Regions from separate parts of the Homo sapiens genome. Here regions 1, 2, 3, 4, 6 and 7 are each linked to region 5. Evidence: promoter capture Hi-C in 16 types of primary human blood cells and fetal thymus (Javierre and others, 2016). All regions are on one chromosome and are shown on one strand. The core of a region is centred on a gene start or on the middle of the fragment in contact, and the rest is flanking DNA. Distances in the headings are between cores, read along the strand shown. Region 1 overlaps WHRN (whirlin). Region 2 overlaps WHRN (whirlin). Region 3 has its middle 9.5 kb from the start of ATP6V1G1. Region 4 overlaps WHRN (whirlin). Region 5 holds the start of TNFSF8 (TNF superfamily member 8). Region 6 overlaps TMEM268 (transmembrane protein 268). Region 7 has its middle 10 kb from the start of WHRN.

The links. Contacts are between HindIII fragments. The CHiCAGO score rates a contact against its expected background, and 5 or more counts as called.
Region 1: a fragment that was not itself captured here is called in contact with the fragment with the promoter of TNFSF8 in region 5 in 1 of 17 cell types (naive B cells); the score reaches 5.1 in naive B cells.
Region 2: a contact is called between a fragment that was not itself captured here and the fragment with the promoter of TNFSF8 in region 5, in 12 of 17 cell types (naive B cells, total B cells, endothelial precursors and 9 more). The highest score is 10.2, in naive B cells.
Region 3: a contact is called between a fragment that was not itself captured here and the fragment with the promoter of TNFSF8 in region 5, in 2 of 17 cell types (total B cells and activated CD4 T cells). The highest score is 6.0, in total B cells.
Region 4: a contact is called between a fragment that was not itself captured here and the fragment with the promoter of TNFSF8 in region 5, in 11 of 17 cell types (monocytes, naive CD8 T cells, fetal thymus and 8 more). The highest score is 7.2, in monocytes.
Region 6: a contact is called between a fragment that was not itself captured here and the fragment with the promoter of TNFSF8 in region 5, in 8 of 17 cell types (naive B cells, activated CD4 T cells, non-activated CD4 T cells and 5 more). The highest score is 9.6, in naive B cells.
Region 7: a fragment that was not itself captured here is called in contact with the fragment with the promoter of TNFSF8 in region 5 in 4 of 17 cell types (fetal thymus, naive B cells, total B cells and 1 more); the score reaches 7.7 in fetal thymus.

What each region holds. Positions count from the first base shown.
Region 1 is chr9:114,470,366-114,473,745 of GRCh38, forward strand. All of the region lies in intron 2 of WHRN (whirlin), which reads right to left. Among named protein-coding and RNA genes, the nearest start is that of WHRN, 33 kb to the right of the region's middle. The HindIII fragment of the contact is 2,018 bases long and covers 521-2,538 here.
Region 2 is chr9:114,431,047-114,434,016 of GRCh38, forward strand. The region is part of intron 3 of WHRN (whirlin); the gene reads right to left. Among named protein-coding and RNA genes, the nearest start is that of AKNA, 45 kb to the left of the region's middle. The HindIII fragment of the contact is 2,686 bases long and covers 1-2,626 here.
Region 3 is chr9:114,576,687-114,579,794 of GRCh38, forward strand. No RefSeq gene overlaps it. Among named protein-coding and RNA genes, the nearest start is that of ATP6V1G1, 9.5 kb to the right of the region's middle. The HindIII fragment of the contact is 3,671 bases long and covers 1-3,108 here.
Region 4 is chr9:114,488,445-114,491,664 of GRCh38, forward strand. All of the region lies in intron 1 of WHRN (whirlin), which reads right to left. It overlaps LOC124902254 (a long non-coding RNA gene), which reads right to left. Exons shown (of 2, transcript XR_007061743.1): 2 at 2,531-2,906. It also overlaps the pseudogene LOC100131877. Among named protein-coding and RNA genes, the nearest start is that of WHRN, 15 kb to the right of the region's middle. RefSeq lists an enhancer at 249-308. The HindIII fragment of the contact is 4,875 bases long and covers 1-3,220 here.
Region 5 is chr9:114,928,705-114,932,067 of GRCh38, forward strand. It overlaps TNFSF8 (TNF superfamily member 8), which reads right to left and starts at 1,887. Exons shown (of 4, transcript NM_001244.4): 1 at 1,405-1,887. The coding sequence starts at 1,599. RefSeq lists an enhancer at 981-1,540. The HindIII fragment of the contact is 2,687 bases long and covers 709-3,363 here.
Region 6 is chr9:114,620,909-114,624,169 of GRCh38, forward strand. The region is part of intron 2 of TMEM268 (transmembrane protein 268); the gene reads left to right. Among named protein-coding and RNA genes, the nearest start is that of TMEM268, 11 kb to the left of the region's middle. The HindIII fragment of the contact is 3,669 bases long and covers 1-3,261 here.
Region 7 is chr9:114,513,861-114,517,280 of GRCh38, forward strand. No RefSeq gene overlaps it. Among named protein-coding and RNA genes, the nearest start is that of WHRN, 10 kb to the left of the region's middle. RefSeq lists a silencer at 21-222. The HindIII fragment of the contact is 580 bases long and covers 1,852-2,431 here.

The DNA.
Region 1 (3,380 bases), core at 280-2,779, 460 kb before region 5:
CGAAGAGTCACCACACGGGTCCTGTATGGCCAGAGCGTGGCAGGAGAGTGGGGGAAATGGCTGAGATTCACCTCCCTGGTGAGGGTGCCATGAGCCAGGCTAAGAGGCTGGGCTATGAGCAGGACAGTGACAGGCTCCAAAGTGGACTGCAGGAAGACTCCTGGAAACGGGAAGCAGGAGAGGGGTGACTTTGTAGAGATCCCCCATGAGAAGTGGTGGTCTTACGATGGTGGTGATGTAGGAGGAAGGTGGGGTTCAGATCAGGGACAGAACAGAGAGGCTGGCTGAGGACACAGTAGGCAGCTCCTGCCTTGATCCCCATTCCTGCCACGCCTGGCAGAGCCCCCACTCCATGCTGCACCTTAAGGCCTTGGAACAAGCCAGGCCCGGCCTGGGGTCTACACACCCAGGATCTAGCCCAGCTCCTTGGGTGACCTGCAGTCAGTCCCCCGCCCCACCCCACCCCGGGGCCCTTCCAGCTCCAGGACATGAAGATCCCAGCAGGGAGAGAGCCAAGAGAAGCTTGGGCATCTTTGCAGTCAAGCCCAGGAACACGCAGATGGCAGCCCATGTCTGCAGCAGCCCACTCTGAATACTAAGGATGAAAACAAACCTCCCCACCTCCCCGCCACCTCCCCATAAATTCTTTACATCAGAATAAAATGAGTCTTTATCACAGAACTGTAATAACAGTTCTATCAAGCACAGGGTAATCTGCCTCTATCACTTGCTGAAAATTCAACCACCATTTGGCATGAATCGGAATTCATCTATGGGAAAGCAAATGACACTGTGAGAAGCAGCCGGGCCCAGTGAAAATAACACCACTACTGCTAATAATATTAATAGAATAATAACTCAGGCAATTGGTCACCAAATGTACTGTTTCCTATGTCCCAGGCACCGTACTCAGCCCTTTATATGCATTACCTCATTGAATCCTCACTCCTCCTCTATGGTTTTGTTGTTATCCCCACTTTCCAGATGAGGAAACTGAGGCTCAACTCTCACTGAGGGATGAAATGATGGGGCTAAGATTCACATACCCAGCCACTTGGCTTGCCTGCAGTGCCTGGGCATTTAACCAATGCACCACACTGCCTCTCACCGGCCTGAGTTCAAGTCTTGGTTCTGCCCCTCACTCTTGGGCACCCTTGGGAAAAGCCCTGTTGCTTCTCGGATCTTCAGTTGCCCAGTCTATAAAAAGAATTGTGCAACCTGCCGGGGGCCAGCACTGCCTGTGGCCAAGCCAGCAGCCATCTCCCTTCCTGCCTTGCCACGGAGCCTCGACTAGGTCCAAGAGGCAGCCGGAGCAGCTCCAGGAGATGACACCAGCCTAGGTTATCCATTCCCTTATACCAGGAACTGGAATGCATGTAGGTAATTCTGGGCCAGTTTTGGCCAAGAGGCATGGTGGGGGATGTCTGCTAGGGGATTCTGGGTAAGATTCCCCACTCTGAAAAGACAGGAACACAGGAAGAGAAGGGCCTCCTGCTCCCTTCACCCACTCTGCTTTGGGCACGGTTGTGAGAGGCTGTGATGGCAGGTGCAGTGGCTGCCATCTTGCAGCTGTGAAGCAATGAGCCCAAGGCAAGAGCCAACAACAGGAAGGAGAGACTCACTCCCTAGCAAACCAGAGCTCGGGCTGCCCAGCCCTACACCTCTGAAGAGAACAGCGAACACCTGAATGTGTGTGCTCCTAAAATACAGGCTTTCTGTGATCCACAGCCAAAAGCACCCCTAACTGATAGCGCCATCCAGGGCTGTTGTGAGGATGAGGATGCGTGGGCTCCCAACTTCCACCCTTGCTCCTGCCATCTACCCTCCATCCAGTAGCCTGGACAGTCCGGCTGGAACCTCATATGCACCTGGTCCCTCCTCTGCTCAAAGCTCTGCCATGGCAGCCATCTCACTCAGAGGAAAGTCCCCAGACTCGGCCTGGTTGCCCATGCCTGCTGCCTCACTCCTCTGTAATCTCACAGGTCTTGCTGCTGCTCCTCAAGAGGCCCTGCTCACCTGCCTGAGGCCTCCAGCCACCTGGAGCACTCTGCCCAGATAGGACGGATCCGTGTATGATCATTTCCTTGTCAGCTTCAGATCCTTTCTTTTGTCACCTTCTTAGTGAGGCCGTCCCTGCCCCTTCTCTAACACTGCCCCACGCACACACCACCCTCCCATGCCCTTTCCTTGCTTGGTTCTCCCTCATTTTACAATAGACTGTATATTATTTCTTTTCATGCCCGTTACGGTCCCCCCACAACACACTAGAGCGTCAGCCCTTGACAGTGGCTAAGGTGTTGTCTGTTCTTTGTCTGTTCACTGCTGTATCCCCAGTACACACAGCAGGCCCATTATAGGTACTTGGTACATATTTTGGGGGAAAATACCAGTACCTAGTCAGCATTTAGTAACTGACGGTTGTTGCTGGAATTCATTACTATGTCCAGGCACTGTGCTCTGTGCTTATAAGCCTTGATTATTAATCCTCGAAACAGCCTCACATGGCTGGCATGACCATCCTCCAATCATGGATGCGGAAGCTTAAGTGACTCATCCAAGGTTAAGTGGCTTGCCCAAGGTCACACAGTCACGAAGTTTCAAAAACAAGCTTCAAACCCAGTGCTGCTGAGCCCAAAGCCCCTGCTCCTTGTGTTCCAGGCTTGTAGCAGCCTGAGCCGAAGGGCAGGTCCCATCTTGTTTCTGTGGCTGCTGGAGACACATGAGCTTGGCGGAGTGGCTGCTTCTGCTGCAGCAGGGTCTAACTGCTCACTGCAGAGTAAGGGGCCGTGGGACAGGGACACTGTAGTGGAATAAGACTTAGGAAGTTCTCAATAAAGCTCATGGGCAAATGACCGGGGAGGGGTGAAAGGGGCATCTGAGTTCTACAAATAGCTGTTCCTGCCCGCATCATTCCTCCGAGCAGATTCCAGATGCTGACCAAGATGACTGGTGCTGTGTGCAGGCAGGCTCTGCTGTCTCTCCTGGATGGAGCCACCACTGTGGCTGTGCGAGGGCCGGACCCAAAGAGCCAGAGCCAGGGGACACTGAAGGGACCAGGCATAAGCCTGAGATATGAGCCTGACCTGTCCCAGCCACTCTCTAGCTGTATGACCTGGGATAATTCATGCAGGCTCTCCAGGCCTCCATTTTCATCTCTGGAAAATCGGAATAATGACACTATCTGTAAGTATTTTATAGGACTTGCCTGCCAGTCAAATGACTCTACAAAACCACAGTGAAATCTGAAAACTGCAGTGAAGAGATAAGCCCCTGGGAAGCTGTGCTTCTATCACTCTGGATACTGGTTCATTGCCACATTAACAACCCCATCTCCAATAAATATGGGTGATAGAAGTGTAAGTGTGGTATGTGGAAGCAAT
Region 2 (2,970 bases), core at 34-2,533, 500 kb before region 5:
AGTCCACAAACCACTTTCAACCAAGTCTGGTGTCTTCTCTGCTGCTAGTGTCCTAGTGTCACCCCGTGTGGCCAGTGGAGTGTGGAGTCCCATCCCTACATTGCAGCCTCTAGTTTTAAAGCCAGGCAACCGTGACATAGTAGCTGAGTGGCCCCGCACAGCTCTCAAGTACAACCTGAGTCTCAGTTTTGTCATCTATAAGATGGGCATGATACTACCACTAGTTCCCAGGTAGCTGTGAGAATCAAATGGAACCACCCTGCACAGAGCCTGAGACACATCAGGCTTTCCATGGCTTCTCATGTGCTTCTCTTCCAGATACAGGAGACAGGTTCAGAGATGTTGAGGGACTTGCTCAAGGTCACTGGTCGTACTGGAAGTAAACAAATGAACCAGCCTTTGAGCCTAATCTTCTCATCTTCTTCCTACCAGCCTATGCCACCTTCACCCCAGCACAGCACTGGCATGCGGGAGATGCTTAGGAAATAGTGAATGGATGGGGGGACCCGGCCTTCCTCCTCTCTTGTTCTCACTTCTGTTTGTTTCCCCTTTCCCGTCAGTTGGTGTGAGTGAATTTGGAGGCAGCATGTTTAAAGATCTTACTCTCACTCTTTCCCAAAGAAAACTAAGAGCTCTGTTTGTTTGTTCATTGCAATGTGGCTTTTTCCTACCCACTGAAACCAACTCAGAGTTAGACGGCACAGGAAAATAAAGCAGAAAATAGAGGCAAAGATGCTGTATCCATCGGGGCCTTCCAAGGCGTCTCTTATAGATGCAGAATCCAAGGCTCAGAAAGGACAGGAACATGTCTAGGGCCACAGAGCAAGGCAACAGCAAAGCCCAGACCCACAGCTAACCGTGGAAACACTCATATCCCTCCACCAGAGCTCACTGGGACAGGACGTGCTGGAGATAGGAGAGACAGGTGCCAAGTGTGATCGAGTGTCTAATATTGCTCAGCTTGCTTGCAGGGCACTGATGGGGAGGACAAGGAAAGATAAACGAATAAAGGCAGCTTTATTTTATTTGTCACCATGGGAATCCTATTTGTCACCACTGATGGAGGAGTGGAGGGTGGACCATGGAATGCCCTTCATTTTAAGGCAGAGGAAAGACTCCTCCATCATCCACAGCCCACTGAGTGACTGGCTCATGTTCAGACACTTTGAGAAGAGCACGGCGGGGCTTCAATAAGGGCAGGATACCGATTTCCCTGAAATTGGCCAACCACCAGTAAGCAGAGAATTCAATTCCCTTAGGTCTGGGGCAGGCGCAGGAGCCCCAGGAGGAGAGGGGACCCTCGTAACAGCGGAAACACTCAGTGGACCTTGCTGGGTTAACGGAGCCCTCTTACTCTCCAAGAGACCTGAGGAAAATAATTTCATTGTTCTAAGCCTTCCTTCCCAAAATGGGAACAAGACCACTAACAGCTAGTGTGTTGTGCAAAGTACACCAGTGGCCATCTGGTGTGTGTTTCTGAGCACAGACCCAGGAGTCTCTGACTAATTCTACACTCTGTCACTTACTTGCTGTATGACCTTGGGTAATTGACTTCACTTCTCTGTGCCTGTTACCTCCTCTGGAAAATAGAGATCATATCAGTACCTGGTTGACAAATGAGTTAATACATTCCCCAGTGTATCACCAACACTTAAAACAGGGTCTGGCACATAGTAGGTGCTCAATAAATATTTACTGAATGAACAAGTATAAAGCACATAAACAAGTAGCTAACATACAGTAACTGCATGGGTCTCCATGGGGCCATAAATGCAATAAATGCATTTTTGAAAGCCATGCTTATCCCTGAATTCACCTGTTGATCACTCACCAACCAAATCTAGCAATTCTACCTCCAGGGTGTCTCTCAGCGCCACCCTCTACCTTTCCACCTACCTTCCCCAGGGCCCTGCCTCTGGCTTCCACTGACCTACACACATTGACCACACCCATGAAACTCATATTTTAATCCCATTTTACAGATGAGGAAGCCGAGGACGGGAAGTAGAGTCATTAAGAGCTGGGATCTGGCCTTCATTCTACCAGCCAGCAAGGCCCCTGCACGAACCAATACCACACTCTCCTTTAAGAAAAGCCAGCCTGCCCTTCCTCTACTTCTTACCCCTCCCAGCCCTGGGCTTTAGGCCATGCACTCAGTAGGTGCTGTATTCGTGCCCGATGAAGGGAACTGGCAGGAAGAACCTGTGGCGGAATGGCAGTAGCTTCGAGCTCCCTCGCCAGAAGTTGTTAGGAGAGAAGGCTGCCAACAACCTGATCCCGAGGCTGAGCTGGGAGACGGGAATCCATCCTCTCAGGCCGCGCGTGCACCTGTACCAGCCACGCTGGGAAGGGCCCGAAAGAAGCCGATTTCAGAGTTGCCTTCAGCACCCTCCCAAGCCTGTGTTAAAATGGATCTTGCGGCTTCAAGGGAGGTCCCTGTTGGCTACAGCATTATCACAAGGAAAATTCAAATTCTATTAAAGAGTTTTATTGCAATTATGAATCTTTAATAGTTTTCCATGTCAGGTGTAAAACTTTAATGGGCTGTTTTTTTTTCTTTCATTACAAGTAAGCAATACAGTTTTAATGAGACATTAGTTTTTCCCAACAGTTCAAAAGTCAGTAAAGCTTGTCCATATTTTGAAAAAGAAAATAAAAAGATGCAGGTAATTGCTAAGACAGTTCCTGGAGCAAGCTCAGGGTATGGGCTGGGTCTGGGTGAGCTCTTCACCCAACCCTCTCTGGTTTAGAGCTCTCACAAGGCAGAACCTAACCAGAAATGCTGTGGATGGACCCGGCAAGGCTAATGCACACTGACTCCCAATATGGTCTATGCTTCCTTCCGGTTCTCTCTTCTGACATTGGCAGATCCGTTGTTAGTACCTGCTTACTCTATTCACCACACAGGAAGCCTCAATGAAGGCCTGCTCTAACCCAGCCATCAATCAAAACTGAGGCCAGAAAGGGGAA
Region 3 (3,108 bases), core at 119-2,618, 350 kb before region 5:
TGCAGTGGCTCACGCCTGTAATCCCAGCACTTTGGGAGGCTGAGGCGGGTGGATCACGGGGTCAAGAGATCGAGACCCTCCTGGCCAACATGGTGAAACGCTGTCTCTATTAAAAAATACAAAAATTAGCTGGGCATAGTGGTGCATGCCTGTAGTCCCAGCTACTCAAGAGGCTGAGGCAGGAGAATCGCTTGAATCCAGGAGGCAGAGGTTGCAGTGAGCTGAGATCATACCATTGCATGCCAGCCTGGTGACAGACCGTGACTCTGTCTTCAAAAAAAAAAAGAATGGGAAGTGTAAAACAGAAATTTATGCTGAGCTGGTTGGCTGAGTATACATACGCAGTAAGCTATAGAAGGACTCATGAATATTTATGAAACAAGAAACATGCACATGTACAATTGAACTTCATGCCTCTTCATGGGTTGCATGTTCCAAAAACTGCGACATTAGCATGATCTGAGGGAGGTGTTTTCAGCCCTCTGATGTCAAAAGGTGAAGCAGAGGACACAGAGCTCACTGTCCCTCACTGCAGCCTCTATACCCTGCCCAGAACTGCTCTATGGTTGGTGACCTCTTAACAGGAAGGAGTGCTGGTCAGTTGCTGTGTGGAAACTGCAAAAGAGACGGGGAGTCTGGTCACGGCCTCAGGTGATTGACTAGAGGTGATAAAGGAATGAATTCTTTGTTTCTTGTTTCCTTTTTTTCTGTATTAATGTTATTTTTAAAATTTTTCTGTAGAGACAGGATCTCACTATGTTGCCCAGGCTGGTCATGAACTCCTGAGCTCAAGCAATCCTCCCAGCTAAGCCTCCCAAAGTGCTGAGATTACAGGTGTGAGCCACCACGCCTCATCTGTTTCTTGTTTTCTAGAGCTGCTCTCTGCTTATTCCTTAGGAAAGAATTCTGGCTGAGGTTAGTAAGGAAGGGGCCTCCTGAGGTGTGTCTGACCTCCTGTCCCAACATGACTGGGAGCTCAGCATTTAAAGATTTTCTGGGATCCGGTTGGCCAAGAGGGGGCCCATTCAGTTGGCTGGGAGGTTTAGGATTTTATTTTTATTTCTCATGATCAAGTTACTTTGTTAAAAAACCCTTGGATATCAAAATTCTGTTTTCTAGAGTAGCATCAACAGAAATATAATGCATACCACATGAGTAGTAATAAATTTTCCTGTTGGGCACATTTTTAAAAGTAAAGAGAAAAAGTAAAATAGATTTTTTTTGTTTTAACAATGTTTTATTTTTAATTGTAGTAAAATATAATATAAAAGTTATCATCCTGACCATTTTTAAGTGTACAGTTCAGTAACATTAACTGCATTCATATAGTTGTGGGATTAAACTCCAGAACATTTTCATCTTACAGAACAGAAACTGTCTACATATTAAACAACCCCTGATTCCTTTCTTCCCTACTCCCCCATCACCCGCCTTGCTCCTGGCAACCACCATTCTACTTTCTGTCTCTATAAGTTTGACAATGCTAGGAACCTCTTATAAATGGATTAATACAGTATTTGTCCTTTTGTGACTGGCTCATTTCACTTAGCAGAATGTTCTATTGTATGCATATATGTATATATATGTAGCTATCGAGCGCTTGAAATATAATAAATATTATTATATACATATATTGTGTTTAAATGTTAAATATATTATTTACATAATATAAATATAATATTAAACAATATCTGTAATAATTTTTTTTTTTTTGAGACAGAGTCCTGCTCTGTCACCCAGGCTGGAGTGCAGTGGCACCATCTCAGCTCACTGTAACCTCCGCCTCCCGGGTTCAAGTGATTCTCTTGCCTCAGCCTCCTGAGTAGCTAGGATTACAGGCGCACACCACCATGCCCGGCTAATTTTTTTATATTTTCAGTAGAGATGGGGTTTTGCCATGTTGGCCAGGCTGGTCTCAAATGCCTGACCTCAGGTGATCCGCCTGCTTTGGCCTCCCAAAGTGCTGGGTTTACAGGCATGAGTCACTGCACCCAACCTAAGAGTTTAAATATCTTAAATTTAAATATCTTTAAATATCCTAAATAAATTAAACACTTCATTCCATAAAATAGAATAAGTGTTCCAATGAGCCGAGCAGAGTCTCCTGACCTCGTGATCCACCCACCTCGGACTTCCAAAGTGCTGGGATTACAGGTGTGAGCCACCGCGCCTGGCGGATTGGTCATTTCAAAGTTCTCCTCTGCAAGGCAGGCACAAGGAAACAGAACTATAGAGAAATAAGTGATTGTTTTTTAAATTTCCTTTTCCTGTTTTTTTTTTAATTTAAAAACAATTTTTAGACTTCTACTTTTTATTTTATTTTTTTAGAGAGACAGAGTTTTGCTCTGTTGCTCAGGCTAGAGTGCAAGACTGGAGGCAAGACTGGGCTAAAATCCAGCCCATACTGTGACCATTTGGCCCAGAAGGTGCATCTTTTTAAATTTTTTTTTTTTTGAGACGGAGTCTTGCTCTGTCGCCCAGGCTGGAGGCCAGTGGCGCGATCTCGGCTCACTGCAAGCTCCGCCTACCAGGTTCACGCCATTCTCCTGCCTCAGCCTCCCGAGTAGCTGGGACTACAGGTGCCCGCCACCACGTCTGGCTAATTTTTTCTATTTTTAGTAGAGATGGGATTTCACTGTGTTAGCTAGGATGGTCTCGATCTCCTGACCTCGTGATCCATTTTAATTTTTTAATTTTAAAAAATTTTTGAGACAGAATCTTGCTCTGTCACCCAGGCTGGGGCACAGTGGCATTATTTCCGCTCACCGCAACCTCCGCCTCCCAGATTGAAGTGATTCTCGTGCCTCAGCCTCCCAAGTAGCTGGGATTGCAGGTGTGCACCACCACACCTGGCTAATTTTTGTATTTTTAGTAGAGATGTGTTTTGCCATGTTGGCCAGGCTGGTCTCAAATTCCTGAGCTCAAGCGATCCTCTTGCCTCGTCCTCCCAAAGTGCTGGGATTGCAAGTGTGAGCCACCACACCCAGCCACAATTACCTCTTGAAGCCACTTGCTACATAGTCTCTAGATCAACTGATGCCAAGTAGTCACCAAATGCCATATGCTGGATGCCATATCCCATACCCTATAGCTCAACGATGTCTAGCT
Region 4 (3,220 bases), core at 104-2,603, 440 kb before region 5:
ACCTCTCTCCTCGCTTCTCTCCATTGCCCTCTCACCAGCAGTTTAAGGGGATTCACACCCCCTTAAACACCAGGCCAATCCTACACCTTGGCCCAAGACAGACAGGGGAGGGTTTTTAAAAAGGACATGGGCCTCACAGGATGTAAACAAAAGAAAGTCCCTTAGGGTCTTGAACCCCGAGCAGGTGCTGTGTCCAGCCACATGGACTGGAAAGTCCCTTCCCATTTAGCCCTGCTTTGAGGGAGGACAGAAATTGGTGATGCGGACTCTGCCCCAGTAGCTTATTTTAATGTCATGAGAAAGTAAAACCCTAATTAGCACTCTGTCTTCCAAGCTCCTTCCATCTGTACCATTTTCATCTGTGTTAATTACCTCTTACAGGGACCACTAACTGCAACAGCTTCCCAGCCTCCTCTCTCAGCCCAGTCACTGCAGAGCAACCAGAGAATCCTTATAAAACATACGTGGACTCTGACCCTTCCCTGCCCCAAACTCTCCCCATTGCTTCTGCTATAAAACTCCCCACAGTGCATCTTGGGCCTGTGCGCCTGGTCCTGATGCCTGGCCAGCCTCATCTCCTGCCCTGCCACCTGAGCTGTCTTATAGGATCAAGTACTCCAAGCTCTTCTCCACTTCAGGCCTTTGCACGTGATGCTCTGTCCCTGAAAGTACATATCTCAACATACTTACTTATGCAAATGATTATTTTATTATCTACACTCTTCTCAGTTGACCAGGAAGGCAAGAAATTGTTGTGGCTTGATCAGAGATGTATCAATAAATAGAAAACATAGGAGATGGTAAGAGATTCCACATAAAGAGACAGTGAAGAAATGAAAGGATGCTTTCTTCTTGGAATTGAACACCAATAAGGAAATTTACCTCTCCTGAAGTTACCAATGATTTCTCTAGTAGAATGGAAATAATCCATTAATTTCTCCTTTTGCCTTGGTTGCTAGGGGGCTCAGAATTCAATTTCAATATAAATACTGTTCCTATCAAAGGCACCACACACACATACACACACACACACACGCACACACACGTACACACACACACGCACACACGCGTGCACACACACACACACACACACTTTCCAAGATCACTTCTGATTCCTCTACCTTTTTAATGAAGTGCTTTTCAGGTTAACTCACTCCATTACTTTTGACTTAAGTAAGAATCTTAATTATAAATGTATTAGTAAATAAGCAAATGAGATATGTAAAGTTTAAAGCGGGGGTTAAACTACACCATTCACATGGTAGATGCTCAATAAAACCACTGCTGAGTGAATAAACACTAAAATCTAAGCACATTTCTAGAATTAGATACCTTTTCTATGCAGCTGGAGATGGAGATCCTTTTTACAGATGCTTGGGCAATCATTCTGCTTTCTCCTCCTACCTCTCTCCCTCCACTCTATAGAAAGGCTCTGCAGCTACTGAGTTTGGTCTAAGAACACATGTCATTTGTAAACATTCTCTTAAACAAAAGTCCAAAAATTGTTATTCTTATATTATTTTGGAATGATGACATAACTGGGCAATGGTGTGGTAAGAATTCTGTTTCTCAAAGAACTGTGGCTTCACAGTAGCATCCTCAACATCTGTGTGCTCATCAGGGAGCCAGGACCCGCGACACAGCCATGCCACGACACGGTCCATCTGCTCCGGCTCTGTGCGGCCACCTCGCTTCCTTGCGCTGCTGCATCCCAGGGTAAATCGAGTGGACCACAGAGCATTGGTGTGAACTCATCCAAGACCCCATCCCTGAAATGCAGCCCAACATAAGGATCATTAAACGCAATGACAACATACGTCAAAAAGAAATGCAAGGAAGCAGGTGATTCGACAATTGAGGAAATGTGAATACACAAGGATAAAGGCCAGGGGAGATGGCAGAGAAATGTATGATGTCCAGTTAGAAGGATGGGAACGTGGGTGTCTTCTCCCCTTTTCTGGTTTTCTTTAGTGCTATTTAGATATGCCTTTAATTTGGGCCTCACGAAGTAGGTTTTTAAAAACCAACGGCTGGATAGGAGAGTATTTAAGGAAAGAAGAACATTTAAAGAAAAAGTTTTTTTTAAAAAAGATATAAAAACCAACTGTTCATTCCTTCCACCCTCTTTTAAGAGTTTGACCTTCTCTGAGGGTTCAATGTAAGGATGCAGAAGGAAACCTTTGCTTCCATGCTGCGAATGCCGGGATCTCAGAGGCTGGAAGAAAGACCTGACATTTTAAAGTCCCTGCTCTCCACTGTCATTGCTTCTAAATGTTTGGGTGAGTTAAGGCTGTGTGAAAAGAAAAAAACATAAACCTTCAAAGAGAGGGATAAAATCCTGACCTTGGGAATAATGCTACAAGAAATTTGCAACAAAGTGACAGATAGGCTGTCCACCCCTTTGCAAAACAACTCATAAGGACAGAACAGATTCCAGAAAGATATTGATTCCTCTTTAATGCAATTCTTCAATTATCCTCAAAGCCTGGCTTTTAGTCTGTTATAATTTAAGTAAATTGCTTTATAAATGTTCTTTTAAGTTTTGTCTGTTTATTCTTTTTTTTTCTTTAAGGAAGAACAAGATTCTCAGAGTCATAAATATATTCACTCAAGATGAGCCCCAATGGGTTTGCAATGGCACATTTTGTTGTCTGGGATCGATGTCCGAAGCACAGAGATCCATCAGGAATATCTGTTTATATCCATATCGTTTTCTCATTCCATGAATAGATACGTTGATGGGATTTAGTCTCCTCCCAGACTCTTGACATCCCTGTGCCTCATCACTTTTTGACAATTCTCAGTTGAAAAGGTGATGGGCTTCCAATTTAATTCAAGCTCAGATGAAAAATCTGAATTCAAGGTGGATTAATCAGCCATTTCCTAAAAACCTACTCGGCCGATGTCTGAAAAATAATGATAGATTTGATGACACTGAAATGCAAAACTCTTGTGATAAATGGGCACAGGATATCAGTCAGTTATGCACGAAATATATACGTGTAAATACATGAACACACACACAAACAATAAACATGCAAAAGAGTTTAACTTCACTGCAACATGGGACAGAATGAGGGGATGCAACGGAGGCAGGTCGGAGCCGCTGCCATCACCATGACCTGTGGTAACCAGCAAGAGCTCCCCACCAGAAGAGTATGAAAAAGCAGAGCGCGCCTCGGTTAAGGGAAAGCACCAAGATGACAGGCTTTTTGCCGCC
Region 5 (3,363 bases), core at 637-3,136:
GATTATTATACTTAATAGATGTAGATAAGCCATTAAATTATGAGTTTTAAGAATTCCACTATCTAAATCAAATATTTGCAACTCCTTCTTTTCACTTTTGTAGAGATATGAGCTTCAAAGCTTCCATTTAATTTCAAAGCTTGATGACACTTGAGAAATAGATATCAAAGCCTTTTAAAGCCTAGTTCTTTCCAGCAATTGATAAGCTATAGAGTACTTGGCCTAAGAAAACTGAAGAAAAACCAGAATAAATTCAGCAGGATTATAATACCACGAAAAGTAGGCACTATGAAGTAAGAAACAGAAATATTCTCACTTTGGCAGGTCATGTGGGTGGGTGCAGCTCTTAAATTACCCATTAACAACTTCATCAAAAAATTCATGAGCAATATATGCTATTACTACAGCATTTTCTATATAATATATACTGGTAGATTCTCTGTAAACACCAATTTTCTAAAATATGAAGAAGCTTCCTCTTTCTCCTCCTCTTCTGTTTTCAGAAACAAATCTTACCATTTACTTCAAAGTAAATCTCCGAAGACAGTCTGACCCTGTACAGTGTGTACCCAACGATTGCTTAGTATTGTGAGGAACATCAGAGAGAACAGGTGCTAAAAACCTTTCAACTTTCTGCTTCTATGTGCTGTTTCTTTTTTTTTTTTTTTTGTGACGCCCTAACTTCTTCAAAGTTGTGGCTTAAGAGGAAGCTTTCGATTTGTCTTGCTGGCTTTAACACCAAAATGTCCAAAGCTCTAAGAAGCCATGGTCTTCTCTTTCGCCTCCTTTCCTTCTAGACCTTGGCCTCTGAAACTTAGCTCCTTGTATAAAACAAAAGCAAAAACAAAACTCTTGGCAATGGGTGAGGCCTCAGAAACCTCCAGGACACTCAGACTTAGGATATAGAACCTCAGAATCCAGTCTGAAGTCCTTGAAGACATGATAACAACTTGTGCAAATGTGTTATCAGGTTTCTCTATTGCTTCCTTCCTTGATATGGGTCTCTGGCTCATTAAGATTTAAATCTTAACTTTAAAAGGCCAATAGCTCCCCTCCACTGTTTTGCTCAGACAGATCTGCAAAGTTTTAAGATGATGGTCTAACAATATTTTTCTCAACAAGCCAAATTATTTTAGAGAGTTAAGTTCCTCTTTCTTTTCTCCCTTTCTCATATATATATATATATATAATATATACTGTATAATATAATATATATTATGTAACATAAGTGTATTACGTTATACAGTATATACTATAGTATATATATATATATAGAGAGAGAGAGTTTATTTATTTAATTTTATTTTGTGCTCTTAACCAACAAACGAATATCATTTGTTCCCAGGGCTCTTTCTCTCGGGAAAACAACAAGAAAAGGAAAGGGAGGAAGAGGAGTCCACTTACCGTCCTCTGAACGACCAACACCATAATAGTGGCCACCGTGAAGACAAGGCACAGAGCCAGAGTGGCTGTGGTCAAATAGAAATAGCTGCGGCTCGTGGTCCCCAGGTGGCTGGCCACGGAGCCCGCCGGCACATGCATGGCTGTGTCTCCAGGAGGGGCCATTCCGTTGAGTGCTTGCTGCAGCCCTGGGTCCATTCTTTATATAGTCTTCCCCACATCACACCTTATCTCTCTTCATCTGATTCAGTTCTGGGCCCATCTCTGTTCCAAGAAGGATTCTCCCCCTGAATCCTGAATCATGTGACTTGGAAAAAAACCTTCACCTGCTGCCTGGTGGAGAAACTCTTCTCTGGGGGCGTGAGGCGAGAGGCGGCAGCAAGGGTGGGGGAGAGGTTCATTTTTCATTGCCAGGGATTAAGTTGTGTGCAGAGAAACTAGCTACAGAGAAGGTGGCTGATGTCAGAGGGCGCGTAGGAAAATGACGGTTCCCCGACTGTGTGTGTGTATGTGTGTGTGTGTGTGTGTGTGTGTGCATGCGTGCGCACACACAAAGCAACTTCTGTTTCGTTTAGACTCTGCCACAAAACGCCTTCCTGTTCAAGAAGCTGCACCTTCTTTCAGCGAGGCCTGTGGCTCAGAAGACCTCCCCAGATAATGAGTCCTTGCTGGGTCTCAGGGAGGCCGGATCCCTCGGACTGCAGTGTAATAACTCCAAAGGGTTCGGTTTGATAGGCTACTGCTGAAAAAGGGACATGCTGCAGGTTCCCTGGGGGAAAAAGGGCACACAAATGGAGATATTTCTCCAAAGGGGGACTGGCTCATGGCAGTATGAAATTTGGGGTTCAAAGATACTGTCAGAAAGCAGGAATCTGGAAATATCAATCTTTTGAACAAACACTCCTGCAGAAGTTTTGGGATCTGTTAAACTGGCAGATGAACCTGGACCTGCCGTAAAACTCATGAAGAGGGGAAGGAATTGGCAGTGAGATGGTGTGGTGTGGAATATGGGGGCTGTGTGTGTTCTGCGTGGTGTACTATGTAGTGTGTGTGTATTTGTGGTATGGGGGTATGTGTAGGTGTTGTGTGTTCTCTATGGTATATGTATGCAGTGTGTGTGTGGTGTGCATTTGTGATCTGCAATGCATGCCGAGTGTGGTGCGTATGTAAGTGTTGTGTGTGGTGTGTATGTATGTGTTGTGTGTGGTGTGTTGTGTCTTGTGTATGTATGTGTTGTGTGTGTATGTGACTACTATAATTGAACCTCTACTGTCTCAGGCACAGCGCTAGGAGTTACATGTGGCTTCATTCCACTTCCACCTCCACCCTCCGAGGCAGGCAATGTTTATTTTTTACAGATGGGAAAACTGAGGCTCAGGGAGGATGAAAACTATCTCAACCTAAGTCGCAAGTGTCGATCACTGAAAGAACTTGGGTGCACTTTGCAGCCTGCCTGGCTGAAAGCTCGTGCTAAGTCATTCAATCTTCACTGCACCTGAAAGCTAAAACCTGAAGTGTGGTCTCAGCCCTTTCCCTTCTTAGCCTTGGGCCATCATACAAGTCTTTATGGCTTTCTCTGTTCCCAATCTGCATTACAGTCATCAGGAAGACCAAGCGAGATGATGTCAGAGTACTCCATGAATAAAAATAGATTTGGGGATGGTGTTGGACAATTCCTGTTAAACATCCCAAGCTGTCTACTGGGCTAAGTCTGGAATTTAGATACAATAGACAGATTACCTGGGGGACAGAGTCAGATCACATCTGTGGTTACTAATGATCTCCATTTCAAAATACCGTTTAAAATGTTAATCACTGCATAGCTGCTGCCTCCAGATGTGGGCCTTTGAAAGCTCCATTTGGTATCACCGTGGAAGAAGCTCATTCTGCATAGCACCTCCTTTCCTTTCTGCTCACTTTTTGTCTGCAGCGCATCACTTTGAGCCAGCAGAGATCCCAGAT
Region 6 (3,261 bases), core at 337-2,836, 310 kb before region 5:
TTGTCCCCCACCACTTCCAAAAAAAAACAGGAGAGAGAGAAAAAAAGCAAAATAAATTTCTTTTTGGCAGGAGGTGGAATTTAGAATTCTGTGGAACCCTTGAGATCAGAGATGATATCCCAGGGTATGAAAAAAGAACCTTTTCCTCTCTGGGTGCAGTGGCTCAGGCCTGTAATCCCAGCACTTTGGGAGGCTGACATGGAAGCATTCCTTGAGCCCAGGAATTTGAGACCAGGCTGGGCAACATAGTGACCTCATCTCTACAAAATAAAAAATTAAAAAAAAAATTAGCTGAGTGTGGTGGTGCATGCCTATGATCCCAGTTACTTGGGAGGCTGACGTGGGAGGATTGCTTGAGCCTTGGGAGGTGGAGGTTGCAGTGAGCCATGTTAGTGTCACTGCACTCCAGCCTGGGTGACAGAGTGAGATGCTGTCTCAAAAAAAAAAAAAAGAAAAAGAACCTTTTCCTATCTTATTAATTTGTTTATACACCAAACGTGTATTTAATGTGCCTCCTGTTTGTATCAGATCAGGGGATTCAGTGATGAACAAACCAGTGTGAGAGTGTATAGTCTGGTGGAAAAGATAGATTTTATTCAAGTAATTTCATGCATATGTAATCAAATAATTGCATACATAGGTATTTAGCTTGGGCGAGTATTAAGGAGAAGAGCGTCAGTTATGGTAGGTTTAGCAGAGGATTTGATCAGTTAGGAGTTTAGAGTGTCAAGGAGGCCTCTCTGGGGAAAGTGAATCATGAGCTGGGATACAAATGATGCATGGGCTGTAACTGGGTGAAGCTAGGTAGACGTGTCCTAGAGAGAGGAACAGTATATGCAAAGGCCCTGGGGTGGGGGAGAACATCATGTTCAGGGACTGAAGGAGGCGGGTGTGGTGAGACATAGAACGAGGCTGAGGGGCTCAAGCTGAGTCTGGCAGGAGGCTAGTTTTCCTAAGGGCTGGAAGAACGTGGTAACAAGGTTGGCTTTTGCAAAGCAACAGGAAGCGATTGAAAGTTTTCTCAAGGCATTGGTGTCATCTGATCTGCACCCTGGCCACTGTGTGGAAGATGCATTGTAGAAGTAAAGGTAGGTTTGCAGCAGAAGCCACTTAGGAGGCTACTGCAGAGGGCCAAGGGAGAGGTGAGGATGCCAGGAGGGCACAGAGTGGACAGATGTTTTGTTTGCCTAGTTGGCAGGGCTTGGTGATACATTGGGGGAGCAGGGAGAGAGAGGGTTTGGATAGGCCAGGAATTTCCTGGAAAGTGGAGTGAGTCATTTGGCTTTGAAGACTCAAGTACTGTTCAGAGCTAGACTGGGGTGACAGGAGTTTTGGATCAGCAGACAACACACTTATGCTTTAATCTCTTCTGTCCTGCCTCATTGTCTAAGCAGCCGCCATAGAGAATATGCCAAAATATCCAGTCCTCAGCAGTGCATGGCTGAAACCTGGGATCCTAGAATCCCAGGGCTGGAATCTCTCCCACCCCCCAGACCTCCTGGCTGCTGACCAGTGGCTCACAGGGCCTTGTACTGTGGTGCAAGGAGATCTCGATCCTTTTGTCCAGTTTCTCTACTTGGAACTGCAGGCAGGTAGGTTTGGCTTTGTGCTGCTGCCATTCCTCCCTGGTCTTGAGGGGATTTCAGTCCAGACTTTTCTCTCCAGCTGGTCTCATGGTCTGGCTTCATCCTACCCTTGGAGGGCGGGGGCTTTGGTAGCAGTTGTGAGCAGCCTGGGTTGATGCGTGTTTTTTGAGGGAATAAACACGTATTTTATGCTTTTGAAATGCGGAGTGTGTTGCAGCCATACGTAGGAGGGATTACAGTAAATCAGTGTATTAGTTTTCTATTGCTGCTATAACAAGTTACCACTAACATACTGGCTTAAAACCACGGATTTGGGCCAGGTGCAGTGGCTCATGCCTGTAATCCCAGTACTTTGGGAGGCCGAGGCGGGCAGATAACATGAAGCTGGGAGTTTGAGACCAGCCTGGCCAACATGGCGAAACTGTGTCTCTACTGAAATACAAAAATTAGCCAGGCATGGTGGTGCATGCCTGTAATCCCAGCTACTTGAAAGGCTGAGGCACAAGAATCACTTGAACCTGGGAGGTGGAGATTGTAGTAAGCTGAGATCGTGCCACTGCACTCCAGCCTGAGTGACAGAGAGAGACTCTGTCTCCAAAAAACAACAACAACAACAACAACAACAACAAGCCAAACCAACCACAGATTTGTTATTTATTTATTTATTTATTTTGAGATGGAGTTTCATTCTTGTTGCCCAGGCTGGAGTGTAATGGCGTGATCTCGGTTCACTGCAACCTCCACCTCCCAGGTTCAAGCAATTCTGCCTCAGCCTCCCCAGTAGCTGGGATTACAGGCACGTGCCACCACGCCCGGCTAATTTTTGTTTTTAGTAGAGACAGGGTTTCACCATGTTGGCCAGGCTGGTCTCGAACTCCTGACCTCAGGCGATCCATCTGCCTCGGCCTCCTAAAGTGCTGGGATTATAGGTGTGAGCCATTGCACCCAGCTGGATTTGTTATTTCATAGTTCTGTAAGTTAGATGTCTGACACTGATCTCACTGAGCCGAAATCCCCTTGGTGGCAGGACTGTTTTTCTTTCTGGAGGCTCTGGGGAGAATCCATTTCCTTTCCTTGTCCAGCCCCTTGGGGCCACCCACATTCCCTGGCTCATGGCCCTCTCCCTCCATGGTCAAAGCGATCGATGCCACATCCCTCCTTGCCTTTCATCCATAGTCAAATCTCCCTCTGACTCTACTTCTGTCCCGCTTTTCCACGTTTAAGGTTCCTTGTGATTTCATGGGGCCCACCCGGATGATTCAGGATAGTCTCCCTATTAAAGGCCAGCTAATGAGCCCCCTTACTTCCACCCTTTGCCATGGAAGGCAGTATATTTGCAGGCTCTGGGGATTAGGGTGTGGACATCTTTGGGGCCATTGTTCTGCCTACTGTGACCAGTTATTTCTTACTTAGACTCTCTGAGCCTACTGGGAATTTAACTTATTCAGCTGAGCATTCTTTGCAATGCTTAAATAAAGGTCCACTGCATCACCCCCCTCAATGTAGTTTTTCAGTCTCTGTTTAAATATTCCTTGTGTTGGGGAACATTTTTTTGTGGGGACAAAAAATGCCTATTTTTTATGGGGACAGCTTTTGCTCTTGGAAAATTCTTCCTTATATGGTCTCACATTGTGGTCCTAGGAGCCTCCTCCCTCTGGCCTTAATTCTGCCTCCT
Region 7 (3,420 bases), core at 892-3,391, 410 kb before region 5:
AAATCCATATAGGCCAATGACTGCCTTTTCTCCTCACTGCAGTTTGATGCAGTTTGGCAGATGTGGCAGGCATCAGAGTCACACTGCCGGGGGTTTAAATCCTGGTTCTGCCACTTGCCAGCTTGAAAGACCTTGAATGACTGACCCCTCTGGTTCTGTTTCCTCAGTCATTCAATGAAGGTAACAGAGGATGCAGTGAAGAGGAAATGCAGTTATATATGCCAAGCACTCATTTGGCATACAGTGTGTGTGTTAGTTTGCTAGGGCTGTGTATTAGTCTGTTCTTGCACTGCTATAAAGAAATACCTGAGACTGGGTGATTTATAAAGAAAAGCGATTTAATTGGCTCATGGTTTTACAGGCTGCCCAAGAAGCATACTGGCTTCTGCTTCTGGGGAGGCCTTGGGAAATTTACAATCATGGTGGACAGCAAAGGGGCAGCAGGCACATCTTACATGGCTGGAGCAGGAGGGAGAGAGAGGGGGAAGTTGCTACACATTTTTTTTTTTTTTTTGAGATGGAGTCTCACTCTGTTGCCCAGGCTGGAGTGCAGTGGCGTGATCTTGGCTCACTGCAACCTCCTTCTCCTGGGTTCAAGCAATTCTCCTGCCTCAGCTTCGTGAGTAGCTGGGACTACAGGCACACGCCGCCATGCCCGGCTAATTTTTTTTGTATTTCAGTAGAGACAGGGTTTCACCGTGTTGTCCAGGCTGGTCATGAACTTCTGAGCTCAGGCAATCTGCCCGCCTTGGCCTCCCAAAGTGCTGGGATTACAGGCATGAGCCACCGCACCTGGCCAGTGCTACACACTTTTTAACACCCAGATCTCATGAGAACTCTATCACCAGAACAGCACCAAAGAGATAGTACTAAACCATCTGCGAAGGATCCACCCGGATGATCCAATCACCTCCCACCAGGCCCCACCTCTAACATTGGGGATTCCAATTGAACATGAAGTTTGGGTGGGGACACAGATCCAAACCATATCAGGCTGCCGTAACAAAATACCATGGACTGGGTGACTTAAACAACAGACATTTATTTTCTCACAAATCTAGAATCTTGAAGTCCAAGATCAAGGTGTCAACAGGGTTGGTTTCTTCTGAGCCCTCTCTCCTTGGTTTGTAGACAGCCTTCTCCCTGTGTCTTCACATGGTCTTTTGCCTGTTTATGTGCCCATGTCTGTGTCCAAATTTTCTCTTCTTATAAGTCATATTGGATTAAGGCTCACCCTAAAACATCATAACTACCTCTTTAAAGGCCTTATCTCCAAATATAGTTACATTCTGAGGTCCTCAGGATTAGGACTTCCACATATGAATATGAGGTAAGGGAGGACATAATTCAGCCCATAATAGTATGTATATTCCCAACTAATGTTAGATGCTTCCTCCTCCAGCTCCAATTGGTGAAAATCTTTATGTCCCAATTCCAGGCACGACTTCTCAGGCTCTCCTATCCTAACTATTCTATGAGAACTAGTTTGTGTCATGAAAAACCTTCCATAAGGACGTGCATTTGTTCCTTGCTCTGTGCATGACAAAAAACAAAAAAACAAAAACAGCAACAACAGCCCTGGTGCTATCCTAACACTGTTGGAATGTGCCTAACGAGTCACTTGAATAACCTTTCTTTAATTTAATCCAATGGCAGTAATTTTCTGGAACACACCGTTACAAGGGAGCAGTATGATCTCCAGGGCTTTTTGTTGTCTAATTAAAAGGCACTGTAGCAAGAAGGAGTTTGCAGTTGCCTTTCAGAATCTGATTTTGGAGTTGGAGAAAATGAGGATTTTTTACTGGACTGTGAGGAGGTTAGGAAGGGTGGCCGGCCCAGGGAGACTGTGGAAGCTTTTGCTGGTCATGTGGCAAAGGCTTTGTGCCATTGTTTTTGCTTGTCAGAAAAAGCCAAGGTCACTCCACTGTCTGGGAGTCCTCTTTCCTTTTAGGTGATGGACAACGAAAGCCTGACCATGGGCTAAGAGCCTCACTGGCTGAGGAATTTCATGGGGCAGGGGTGGCTGCTGATCCATTTACAAAATTAACTCATTCATCAGCACTGTCTTACTGAACATTTATTAGGTGCTAATGGTGGGCATAAAGGTAAAAATAATTGACATTTATAAATATCTATAGATTACAGGTTCTTAATGTGGGGATCATGACTTCAGAGCACCTGTGACGTCTCAGAAATTGTGCACCGTATCTGTGCTTGTGTGCGTATCAATGTTTCATTTTTCTAAATTCTGTGGTCCATGACCAAAAACATTGAGACCTCCTTATTCTAAATAATACTTGCTTCAATTTACTGAGAGCTTACTTTATCAGATACATTATGTTCCTTTCTTCATTTAAGACTCATGTCAATTCTCCAAGAATTCCTGTATCATCCCCATTCAACAGATGAGGAAACTGAGGCTGGGAGGCTAAGCTTTTAAAAGGCAAAGCTTGGGTTTCATCCAGTCATACAACAAACTTTTATTGAATATCCCTGCTCTAGAGGAAGAGTTAGACAACTGCAATACAATGAGGTGGGTGCTCCAATAGAGGAAGGTAGATGGGGCACAGAGGGAGCACCTGACCCAATGTGGAGGTTGGAAGTCAGGAAAGCTTCCTGGAGGAGTGAATGCCTGCACTGAGTCTTAAGGAGAAGGCAGGTAAAATAGTTGGGAAGGGGACTCCGGAAGTGAAGACTAATTTGTGTCTGGGAGTGTGCCAGTTCAAGAAGGGAGAGAAACACAGAAACACAGATCTGACCAAGGTCTTCTTTTTTTTTTTTTTTTTTTTTTTTTTCAGAAACCTCATTCAACCAGTAAACCTCAGAAATGATATTCAGCCTCACTTGTGATCAGAGAGTTGCAAGTTAAAACAACATTGAGATACCATTTCGCACATACCAGATTGGCAAAATCAAAATAACTGACATTACCAAGTATTGGCAAGGTTGTGGTGCAAAAGGAATGTGCTTACAGGGCTGGTGGGAGTATAAATTGGCAGGACCACTGTGGAGAGCTGCTTGGCAGCATCTAGTAGGCTTGAAAAAATGCCAACTCTAGACCTGGTGGCTCCGTATCTTGGTATATTTCCTGGAGGAAACTCTTACACATTTGTACCAGACATGTGTCCGTTGGTTTCTGCTATGTAACAAACCATCCCAAAATGCACTGTCTAACCATCACCGGTTTAGCTCACACTTCTGTGAGTCAGCTGAGCTTTTTCATGGGTCTGCGGTCAGTTGGAGGCTCAGCTGGTAGCTGAATGATCTAGGAAGCCCTTACTCACTTGCCTGTCAGTTCGCTGGCAATTGGCTGGGGCTACGGGAGCAATTGGTCTACACATCCCTTGTCATCCAATTGATGTCACAATTAACACCTTTGCCTGGGAGATAGGAGATGCCTCGAATAAATGGGAGCTGAAA